Regions from separate parts of the Homo sapiens genome. Here region 1 is linked to region 2. Evidence: promoter capture Hi-C in human tissues and cell types (Jung and others, 2019). All regions are on one chromosome and are shown on one strand. The core of a region is centred on a gene start or on the middle of the fragment in contact, and the rest is flanking DNA. Distances in the headings are between cores, read along the strand shown. Region 1 overlaps OTUD7B (OTU deubiquitinase 7B). Region 2 holds the start of CA14 (carbonic anhydrase 14).

The links. Contacts are between HindIII fragments. The study calls those that stand out against the background at their distance.
Region 1: a contact is called between a fragment that was not itself captured here and the fragment with the promoter of CA14 in region 2, in 5 of the 25 tissues and cell types used here (dorsolateral prefrontal cortex, hippocampus, lymphoblastoid cells and 2 more).

Annotation. Positions count from the first base shown.
Region 1 is chr1:150,002,005-150,007,380 of GRCh38, forward strand. The region is part of intron 1 of OTUD7B (OTU deubiquitinase 7B); the gene reads right to left. Among named protein-coding and RNA genes, the nearest start is that of OTUD7B, 6.0 kb to the right of the region's middle. The HindIII fragment of the contact is 6,747 bases long and covers 482-5,376 here.
Region 2 is chr1:150,255,443-150,261,619 of GRCh38, forward strand. It overlaps CA14 (carbonic anhydrase 14), which reads left to right and starts at 2,332. Exons shown (of 11, transcript NM_012113.3): 1 at 2,332-2,741; 2 at 4,709-4,729; 3 at 6,017-6,177. The coding sequence starts at 2,687. RefSeq lists an enhancer at 522-1,216. The HindIII fragment of the contact is 12,121 bases long and covers 1-6,177 here.

The DNA of each region.
Region 1 (5,376 bases), core at 2,605-5,104, 250 kb before region 2:
CAAACAATTTCCCTCCACAAAAATCCAATGAAAATGAAAATACAGGGAAGATGCAGAATCTGAGTATTTAATATTTTAAAGAGAGTAAGACATCTAAAACAAATATGACAAAATGTTAATGTCCATCAAATTTGGGATGTAGGCTCAAAATTGTTTCTGTTTGGGTTTTTTCCCTGAACTTTTCTAAATTTTGTTTAGATATTCTTTTTTTTTTAGATAAATATACTTTTAATCAGTGCCCAATTTATCATAGCTTATTTAACAAGTTTCAGTGGCACAAATAAAACTAAGTTTAAAAGAAAACAACTTAAAGGGAGCTTAGTGGCAGAGATAAAGACATGCAACAAAACAAATACCTTGACATTCTTCTACATCTGAATCACTACAGCTGAAAAATCCTAACACCTCATTCAGCCCAGTCCAGGGCACCGAACTGCCCCTCTTCCCAATGGTACTCTCAGGGAACATCTTTCTCAGTCAGACCTAGGAAAATACCTCTATTCACTTTGGACTGGTTAAAAAAAGACGGTAGAATGGAATGATGTTAAGTCCTTCTATCTGCTAGTACAATGCAATGTGGCAGAATGACACAAACACTGAAATGGGACTTGGGAGAGAAGAGAGAGGTGAATTCACCTTTATTAATCACCTAGTACATGCTGAAGACTGAATTCTAGACTAAGCTATCACAGAACCACTTCTGTGATCCTGAGTAAACCTCAGGTATTCTATTTGAAAATGAATGAGGAAAACTAAGAAAGCATCGCAGCCCCGCCAGTTGTCTGATTCCATGAATCTGTAAATATGATCACTCTCAATAAATGTGTTCAGTATAATGAAGTTATTGAAAGGAATTCTGCTTTCTCCATCTCCAATCCACCCTACACACCACTGACATAATCTTTCTAGGATGTGAAACGTATTAAATGGCTCCTGATATACTGCAGTATAAGATAAAGCTCCAGGCCGGGCGTGGTGGCTCTCGCCTGTAATCCCAGCACTTTGGGAGGCCGAGGCGGGCGGATCGCGAGGTCAGGAGATCAAGACCATCCTGGCTAACATGGTGAAACCCCGCCTCCACTAAAAATACAAAAAATTAGCCGGGCATGGTGGCGGGCGCCTGTAGTCCCAGCAACTCGGGAGGCTGAGGCAGGAGAATGGCGTGAACCCGGGAGGCGGAGCTTGCAGTGAGCTGAGATTGTGCCACTGCACTCCAGCCTGGGTGACAGAGCAAGACTCTGTCTCAAAAAAAAAAAAAAAAAGATAAAAACTCTGTATGATCCAGCGTTGCCTACCTCTTCAGCCTGCCCTCCATCCCATCCTCCAGCCATAATGATTAAGTAAAAGTTACCTGAAGAAGTCTGGCCTTCATTCCTTTAAGCTTTTGTTCATGGTATTTTCTCAGACTGGAATGTAATTCTTGTCATCTGTAGAGTATATCCTTAATTCATCTTTCAAGACTCAGCTCAAATGCTAACTCCTCAGGGAGGCTCTTTCCAACCTCAGCATGCCCAAGGCAGAACTGACCCTTGGGCTCCCACTCTCCCTGCTGCATACTTCTATCACAGCATCTATCACACTTCATTCTATCTATATATTTACATATCTGTCTCCTCCCACTAGACCCATACGCTCCTCGTGGGTTCCTTGTCTCCCTTACCTCCATCTCAGTGCCTAGGATGGTGTTTACAAGATAGGAGACATGTTTAGGTTTAGACGTGTTTAGGTTTATCAGTACCATTTTCTTTGCCCTTCTGCTCTTTCCCTAAACTTTAGTCCTCAGAGAGCTTATTAATTCTCTTGGCTACAGCTACCACATCTAGGCCATGAATTGCAAAACTGCATTTCCAAACCTACCCCCATCTTTACTCCAGCTCACACCCAGGACAGCCTTCATTTGGACATTTCATTGCCACTTTAAATCCAACACATCGCAAATTATACTCATCATATTTCCCCAAAATGAGGAAAGCTTCCTAACTTCTTTATTTCACTCAATGTCTCAGACACCCAGGCACAACGTGTCACAGTTGTAGTTGACTCATCACCCTTCTTCATCTCCCACATCCACCCCTCATTAATTTCCATTTTTCCTTCACAGTCTCTTTTTCACTCTTTCCTCTCCTTAGCCTACCCTCCACAACTCTAACTCGGGCCTCATCACTTCACACACCCCCAGTGTCAATCTCCATTCCCTCCCAGCCAACCTGTGTATTAGTATCATCATACTGCTATTCTATTCAAAAATCTTCTACCATTTAAAATATAAAGTTGACCGGGCACGGTGGCTCATGCCTGTCATCCCAGCACTTTGGGAAGCTAAGGTGGGCGGATCACTTGAGGTCAGGAGTTTGAGACCAGCCTGGCCAACATGGTGAAATCCTGTCTCTACTAAAAATACAAAAATTAGCTGGGCATGCTGGTGCACGCCTGTAATCCCAGCTACTCAGGAGGCTGAGGCACGAGAATCACTTGAACCCAGGAGGCGGAGGTTGCAGTCAGCCAAGATTGTGTCACTGCACTCCAGCCTGAGCTGGACAACAGAGCAAGACCCTGTCTCAAAAAAATAAATAAATAAATACATAAATAAATAAATAAATAAATTTTATATATATATATAAACTTATAAGCCTAGCTTTTTAACACCCTCTATAAACATAGCTCCAAACCAACCTACCCACCTTCATTTCACTACTGCTCACTGCCACTCAGGTTAGTCTCCTCACCGCCCCAAGAACATCTCAGGTATAGTCCTGTTTCCAGGCTTTCGCTTGATCCCTTTCAGCTCCAATATGAAATGTTTTGTTATCCTCTTCATCTTCATCCCTTGTACCTAATACAATAACACTTATTCATTTATTTTTTTATTTATTTTGGAGACAGAGTCTTGCTCTGTCACCCAGGCTGGAGTGCAGTGGTGCTATCTCGGCTGTTTGCAACCTCCATCTCCTGGGTTCAAGTGATTCTCCTGCCTCAGCCTCCTGAGTAGCTGGGATTACAGGCGTGAGCCACTGTGCCTGGCCTATTTTTTTATTAAGATCTGAAATGAGTTATAATTCCTCTGTGACATAACTACCTGAGTACTCCTCTCCCCAAATACCTACGGTATGAGGTCTGCACTATGCAACTAACAATATAGTTTCACATTTTAAAATTTTGTGTGGCATATTAAGAGGCTCAGCAAGTATTCATTCCTTTTTATTCTTCTTACTCCCAACTGGACTGTAAACTCTTCAAGGACACAAAGTTGTCATTTTTCCTAATCCTCCATAGCACCTAGCAAAGAATTAAACTCATAGTGGGTCACTACAAATAACAGTTTAGTAATTTTCTTATCTACAGCTATTTCTTAGAGGAAATAAAGGGCTAAGGTATAATCCTAAAAAAAGCACAGTTGAAAATAATCCCTATCTAGTTGTATAAAATAAGATTCCTGACTTTTCCACCTGATTTCTAGCTCAGAAATACTACAATCTCCTGACTCAAGAAGTAAATAATAATCCTGTGCTCGTGACATCAGTTTGGTAATGATTATAAAGAGGTGGGGGAGAGTGGCAGGGATGGAGAAAAGCAAGTCAACTGGAGAAGAAAAAAAAGGGATGAAAGAATGGCATGTGATTTTGTTTACTTCTTAAATGTGGACACTTCTGCCCATTCCTTTTTTTTTTAATTGGACATACTTTCAAACAACTTTCCTACAGGAGGAAAAGTCTGACAGATTTTCAATGAAGCTGATATCTGGAAGAGCCTCTACAAAGCACAAGTCCTTTGAGAAAGCCGGCTTAATCTTCAACAACACAACATAATGTAGTGGCATTCGTCCAGATACTGTGAATGAAGGCTCATTCTGGCTGGAACACAAGCATCACCTGCCAGTCATTCTCAGACATAAGACAGACAGCCTAGGAGGCCACATTGGATCCATACAGATTTTGAAAAGAAATTGGTCTATCAACATATTCAGTGTAGTCTAGTCTTAATTATCTACAAATGGATTATTCATTTTACGGATTTCTAAGGCCAAATCTTTAATGCAAGAATGACTGTTCTTCATCATCAGTGTACTCTCCCCACCATCAGGTAATATAAGCTTAGAAATGCAAATTTATTTCAATATTAGTATGATCCCCAAAAATGAAAATAAATCTAGTTTAAAAAATAATGTATTTTCGGCCCGGCACACTGGCTCACGCCTGTAATCCCAGCACTTTGGGAGGCCGAGTCAGGCGGATCACGAGGTCAGGAGATCAAGACCATCCTGGCTAACACGGTGAAACCCCGTCTCTACTAAAAATACAAAAAATTAACCGGGCGTGGTGGTGGGCGCCTGTAGTCCCAGCTACTCGGGAGGCTGAGGCAGGACAATGGCATGAACCTGGGAGGCAGAGCTTGCAGTAAGCTGAGATTGCGCCACTGTACTTCAGTCTGGGAGCAAAGTTGTCATTTTTCCTAAACCTCCATAGCACCTAGCAAAGAATTAAACTCATAGTGGGTCACTACAAATAACAGTTTAGTAATTTTTCTTATCTAAAACTATTTCTTAGAGGAAATAAAGGGATAAGGTATAATCCTAAAAAAAACACAGTTGAAAATAACCAGGAAATGTCTTTGTTAAGTTCTGAATTACCTACAACAGTGCTCCCTACATTAGCAGAGACAACTGAGAGTTAAATGCACTTGAAACATAATGCTGTCCTTACTATAAGCTCTTGAGGAGAATCCGGCCATAGTCTTGAGACTTCCCCACAGGTTGGTGCACTACGAGACAGGAACAAGCAGGCTCAGCATAGTAAGGTGTGTAAACACAAAAACTTCTACAAGGAATCTTATGCCTCCTGGCTGTATCCCTTCAGGTTAGGATGGTACAGAAAATAAGAGTCACAATGTACGGATGCCTGCCTGATTCCTTGTCCCTGAGTTCCTGAACCAAAGGGCTCAATATTTCTCATTAAATCCGTCCTTTGTTCAAGGACCTACAATGATTCTATTGACCCTTCTATCAACACCCAACAGAGTCTGGCTTCTGAGTCCCCTCCACCCTCTTGCCTGCTCTACTCATGACTTGCCCAACCCACATTCTCTACAGTCACTCTCATATATTCCCCCCACTCACAACTTAGTCATTCATATCATCATTGCACACTGTACATTCTATACTTTCTGTTTGGAAGATCCTTTCTTTTCTTTTATTCCCAACACAGTAACTATTTCATTTACTTGAATGCTCACATTTTACAGATAAGGAAAAGAAGTTAACTTGTCCAAGGTCACATGGTAAAAAATAGCCGCAAGGTCTGAACGAAGACCCATCTAACTCAATAGCCCATACCTCTTTATGACTCATCCATAGCCTCCCAAGTCCATTTCAAAATTTAC
Region 2 (6,177 bases), core at 1,082-3,581:
TGGCCCACCTGCCTCGGCCTCCCAAAGTGCTGGCATTACAGGCGTGAGCCACCACGCCTCATCTCAGTCAAGTTTCAGTATATCTACAAGGACAGGAGATGGCGCCAGAAGGCAGTGAGATGCTTGGTTTTGGTTTTAACGGTTTTAGCCAATGCAAGCAAGGAAAGGGCTTGAGAGAGAGGTCAGAACTAAAACAAAGGTGCCAGAGTTTGAGTGGAAACTAAGACTGAGTGGGGAGAGGGAGCTGTGTCAGTTTTTTTTTTTTTAACTTACATATAAGGGTCCCCTTGACACCTACTCCAAATCAGCACAGCTAGAAAGCAACAAAAGAAATATCCACAGTAAAGCCAAAGATCAAGATAAAGTCAAGTGCCTGGAGGACGGCGCTCGCCTTCTGGCTCCCTCTGTCCTAGAAAGGAGGGCCTTTGTCGTCTGGGAAGCATAAGCACCTGGATGCGTTGCTCACCCAAGATCAGGGAAGTGTTGATTCCAGGCTAAGATATCTTTGTGAAACAATGTTCAGTTGCGTAGGCAAAATCCCAAAGCCCAGCAGCAGTGAAATACCTCCCAGAAGGAACCACATACACAAAGCATTTTAAATTAAAATTTAAAAATTCATAGACGAGCCAGGAGGTGGCGCCTGGCAAGACACGCTATCTGCCTTGGAAATCGGAATCTCAGCTCAGCGCTCCAGGGGAACTCTGTTCCGGCAGAGGTCATTCTGTTCAGACCTCTTCTTTCCTACTAAATCTCTTCTTTCATACCAAGATGTCTCTGCTTTCTTTTTTTGTTTCTTTGTGTTAAGTACCCTGATTCCCGGGAAATCTAATTTATACTTCAAGTCTTTTACTCTTCTTAGATGGGATGGATGGGGCTTTGGGGAACCTCAAAACATAAAACTTTCCTGAAGGGGACAAATAACTCAGAGGGTGATAGGAGAAGAAAAAGGGAAATGACATCAGCAAAATGGCTTGGCTTTGCAGATCAATCACAGGGGATAGAAAGGCACAGTGAGCTCCTGTCTCTGCAGGAGCTGATGATCCAGCACATGCATTATTCTGTTCATTTGGCTTTTATCCTGCTCCCTTATTTAGCTTCTGCTCCCTTTGTTTGGCTATTTATTGCTACTCGGCAGGAGCAAGGAGGGCAGAGGGAGCTTCAGATGGGTGCATCCTCCTGGCTGGTGCCTCTGGTGAAGAGCATGGAGGAGAAAGAGGTTTCAATGTCTGGCTTGAAAGTATCTGTGGGTTTCACATTCTCTAACGAGGGATTTAGGATGTACATTCCAATCGGGATTTCCAGTCCCGTGGGGAGCAAACATCAGTTCACATTCCTGAGACGTGCAGCCTCCATGCTCCACGGACGCAGCTCCTTGGTGGCAGGTTTCATTCAGTGCCACATGTCCTGCCTCAGCCCTTTGTTGGGCTGGAAGGAAGACCCTGAGCCCCTCTTCCATCTGGATCACATGGTCTCTCCAGACCCTCCCCTCTCTTTCTCTGGAAACCACCTTTTTCTGATGGTGGTAGTGATTGTTCCTAAAGTCTCTCCTTTCCTCCTGCCCTGGCCTCTCTGCCGGAGGTCAGTGTCCTCTTCAGTGACAAAAGCCGCCCTAGATCTGGGCTCCCTGGAGAGGGAGGTGGCTGGGTCTGGCAGTTACAGCCGCTGTCTCTCCATGGTGCTGCTACACCCCTCCCCCACTGGGCATACAAATGGGCTTTATCCAGCAAACAACGCTCCCTCCCCGCACTCCCCCCACCCCAGGCCACACAGGCACGTGGACCCAGGCCTCACCGTGGGAAGGGGGTGGTGGCAGGCACAGAAGAGATTGCTCCAGATGAGTTCTCCTTGCCTCACTTCTCTTCCTTAGAACTTAGGACACAACTCAGGTTTTAGTTATTGACTTCCTCCACCCCTCCCCTGCACCCTGAGTCCCTAATTCCTTCTTGTTATATATCTCCTAATTCTGGACTCTTCCCATTCCAGGGCAGCTCAGATTATGCAGGGAATTGGGAACAGGTACCCCCACCATCTGCCGCATACCACCCAGGGAGCTGCTCCTCAGAGGAGAAATCAGGCGGGGGGATGAAAATACAGTGTCCTTTTGAGGGGGCTGAGTTGAACCCCAAAGCCCCTTCCTTGACCCTGCCTGCTCCAGGGAACACCCATCTAAACAGCATCTGTGTGACTAGCAGAGGAAGGAAGAGCTCACCCCAGCTGGGCTCCTGAGCCAGGGCCAGGGCTCCAGTGAAACTTGCCGCGCTCCAGCTCCGAGTGGGGCCATCCTGCATGCCTAATTGGCTATTTAAGGAGCTGTTCACCAGCAGCCCAGGCAGCACCCCCGTCCCCACATACACCAGTTCAGAGCCACCTTAAAAGCAGGAGGCAGTTGTAAAGTCGCTGGCCAGCTAGTGGAGTGGAGACTGCAGAGGGAGATAAAGAGAGAGGGCAAAGAGGCAGCAAGAGATTTGTCCTGGGGATCCAGAAACCCATGATACCCTACTGAACACCGAATCCCCTGGAAGCCCACAGAGACAGAGACAGCAAGAGAAGCAGAGATAAATACACTCACGCCAGGAGCTCGCTCGCTCTCTCTCTCTCTCTCTCACTCCTCCCTCCCTCTCTCTCTGCCTGTCCTAGTCCTCTAGTCCTCAAATTCCCAGTCCCCTGCACCCCTTCCTGGGACACTATGTTGTTCTCCGCCCTCCTGCTGGAGGTGATTTGGATCCTGGCTGCAGATGGGGGTAGGTACAACTAAATGTCTGTGTGTGGATTTGTGCTGATGTTCACATGTCGCCAGGTGTGCTTAATGGGGGGAGGAGAGGTGTGAAAGGAAGCCTAGAGGCTGGAATAATAGGCTCAGAGATGAGGAAAAAAGAGTGGGGTGTGGAGGAGACCACTTCCCTTCTTTACCTTTTGTCTCTCCAGCCTTGTTGTTATTGGAGGTCGGGGAGAACTAGCGGCAGGCAGGCAGAGTGTGTACACATGCAAGTGCTGGAATCTCTTTGCAGGCTACAGATTTTCTCCAGAGCTCTTTCCCCCACTGCCCTGGTCCCAGGCAGGACTCCTGGACTTCTTTATTTACAAACTCCTCCAAATAGGGAGTCAAAGAGGCCTGGAGTAAAAAGATGGATAGATGGGGGTAGGGGGAAGAATACTTCCTGCCCAACTCAGACCCTGATCTCCAATTCATCCCCTTTTGGCCAAGATTCCCTCTTCATTCTGTGGAGCGACTAACTCCCCAGTTATCCTCTGAAAGTGGCAGTAAGAGTCAACATTTGTTTGACATTTTACAGTTTACAAAGGACTTTCAGGAGCTCCCAGGAGATGAGGAGGGATTCTTGGGAGAACAGGCTGAAGCGCTCCAGGAGTGTCCCCAGGAACTCCTAGACCTCATTTTTGTGTTTCCTGTGCCTAGCACAGTGTCCAGCACATACTAGGTGTGTAACTGAGGTTTGTGGAAAGAGCAGGGTGAGGTGGGTGTCCAGAGAGCAGAAGGCAAATGCAGAGAGGATGGGGGCAGGCAGGCAGCCAAATGGAGAGTCACAAATCTCATCTGAGGAGAAAGAAAAAAAGAGGGAAAGAGGAGGAAGAGACAGAATAAGTGTGTTGAGGCTCTGACCAGAGTGGACAGGCACCTTTACAGACCAGGGAGTTTGAGTTGTTGGGGGGTCCCACAGATATGGTAAAATGAGAGGCTGCCTCCAGCTCTCCCTTGGGCTAGCAGAATAGGTCAAGGATAAGAGCAGGACATCTCACAAGTTTGAGGAATTTAAGGGAATAAGAGACAGAGAGAGGAAGGAATTTAGGATTTTTCTCCAGAGTTTCTAGTAGTATGAATATTGCAGCATAAACCATGAAGGCCTTCGTTTTCTTCTTGAGGCAGTTTGGCCGTAGGGAGGGGCTGGACCTGCAGACCCTCAGCCTTTGCGTCAGACAGGACTGCACGAGAGCCTGGCATGTGACCCAGCTGGCAGCTCTCTTCTCTACACACAATGCTTCACTTTCATCCTGTCCCTGCCAGCCTGGCTGCCTGTGCCCACCCACCACCCTCAATCTAGAGTAGACCCTGCCCTGACTCCCACCCTTCCCTAACCATCTCAGAATGTAGGGAGCAGAGCCTCCTGGTGATGAGGAGTTTCCTCTAGAGCTAATGGGACCAGAAAAGAAGAATTTACATATGAGTTTACAGCTCAGTGGCTTTATTCATGCAATTTTTTAAAGCAAAGGAATAATCTCCCCTTCTCCCCTCAGTAGCACCCCCCAACACACACACACTCTAAACTCCTTTCTCCTCCCCGCTTTCTAGTCCCTATCCTTCCAACCCTCTGCCCACACCCTCACCCCACCCACCCCAATCTTCTAAGTGTTAGATTGACTTGGCACAGGTTACAGAAAAGAAAGGGTTGGGCCAATCGCACATTTGGATCCAGGTTAATTTTAGTCTCTGGGCTTTACCTCTTTTCCTTCCTCCTCCCCTTTTACTCGGCAGGCACCAACACAGCCTGGCTGGTGATTTTAAATAGGCCCCCCGACCTTTCCACAGAGGTGTCCGGTTTCAGGGCTTCCTTTGCAAAGTGCTGGAGCAGAGGGAGGAGAGACTGCAGAGAGGGAGGTGGAGCAGTACAGAATGCCAGAGGGAGGGGAGTGTGGAGGCCAGGGTTCTGCCCCAGGCTGCGCTGGCTGTAACCCAAACTATTCTGCCTTGCAGGTCAACACTGGACGTATGAGGGTGAGCAGATCTCAAGGCCTCCCGACAACCCTTTCACACTGGGACCTCCTCACCTGGCAGGAAGACACACTGTGCGGGTGGGAGGAGACTTCCTTTACCTTCTCACCCTAGCTCCTCCCTTCTGGATCTCCTCCTGCCTTGAGTTTCACATATATGGCTCCTAGATCCTGCTCTAATCATCAAATCCTACACCTCCTGATTTGGCAGAAAAGCTAGTTAAGTCCTCAGTAAATCGTGTAGGAGTGAGGGAGCTGGGGTGGAAAGGAAGCTGGGTGGGAACTCTGAGCTTAGCTGCCAGGTCTCCTTCTGGCTCCGTCTATCCTAATCCATCCTACCCCTAACCTGCATCTGAAATTGGGACAGAGCTGGAGGTCAGGGGTGAGGAAGAGGCTGGCAGGATAGTTTCTGACCCTGGGGGAGGTGGAACTCAGTTCCTATGAACTACTGATTAATGACTTAACCAAACTCAAGTTCATGATAAACGGTCAGTGTGAGAGCAAGAAGTGAATGATGAGAAGTCAGGATATCTGAATCCCAAGGCCACTTGATAGGGGCCTCCAGGAGACCGTATCTCTCTAGGTTATTTTTTTTTTTTTTTTTTTTTTTGACACAGAGTCTTGCTCTGTCACCCAGGCTGGAGTGCAGTGGCGCAATCTGGGCTCACTGCAAACTCCACCTCCTGGGTTTAAGTGATTCTCCTGCCTCAGCTTCTCGAGTAGCTGGGATTACAGGTGCCCACCACCACGTCTGGCTAATTTTTGCATTTTTAGTAGAGATGGGGTTTCACCATGTTGGCCAGGCTGGTCTCGAACTCCTGACCTCAAGCGATCCACCTGCCTCGGCCTCCCAAAGTGCTGGGATTACAGGCATGAGCCACTGTGCCTGGCCTATCTAGGATCATTTTATTTCTCCCATTTTTCTACTCCTACTCTCTAATCCCATCTCTCAGGGTATTCAGGTTTTCTATGCATCCCCTCTGCCCTCATTCAGCTTTCTTGTCCTCAAAATACAGGTAAGTAAAAGAGCTACCACTCCCCATTCATCAGGATAGTTGGGGAATCATCACTGCCTCTGGGTAGGGAAGGGGAACTGCAGCATGAGACTCAACAGGACTCCTACCTCACCCATCCCTATACAACTGGGGTCTTAACCTGGGTGGAGGGAAGTCCATTTCTACCTCCACACAGATGTATGGCTTGGTTAGGGGAAGGGTCAAAGGGAGGGGGTGCTGTTGAAGGGTAGCTAGAGCTGGAGGACAGGACCAATGTCTTTGGTAACCCCCACCAGGCCCACATGGTCAGGACCATTGGCCAGCCTCTTACCCTGAGTGTGGAAACAATGCCCAGTCGCCCATCGATATTCAGACAGACAGTGTGACATTTGACCCTGATTTGCCTGCTCTGCAGCCCCACGGATATGACCAGCCTGGCACCGAGCCTTTGGACCTG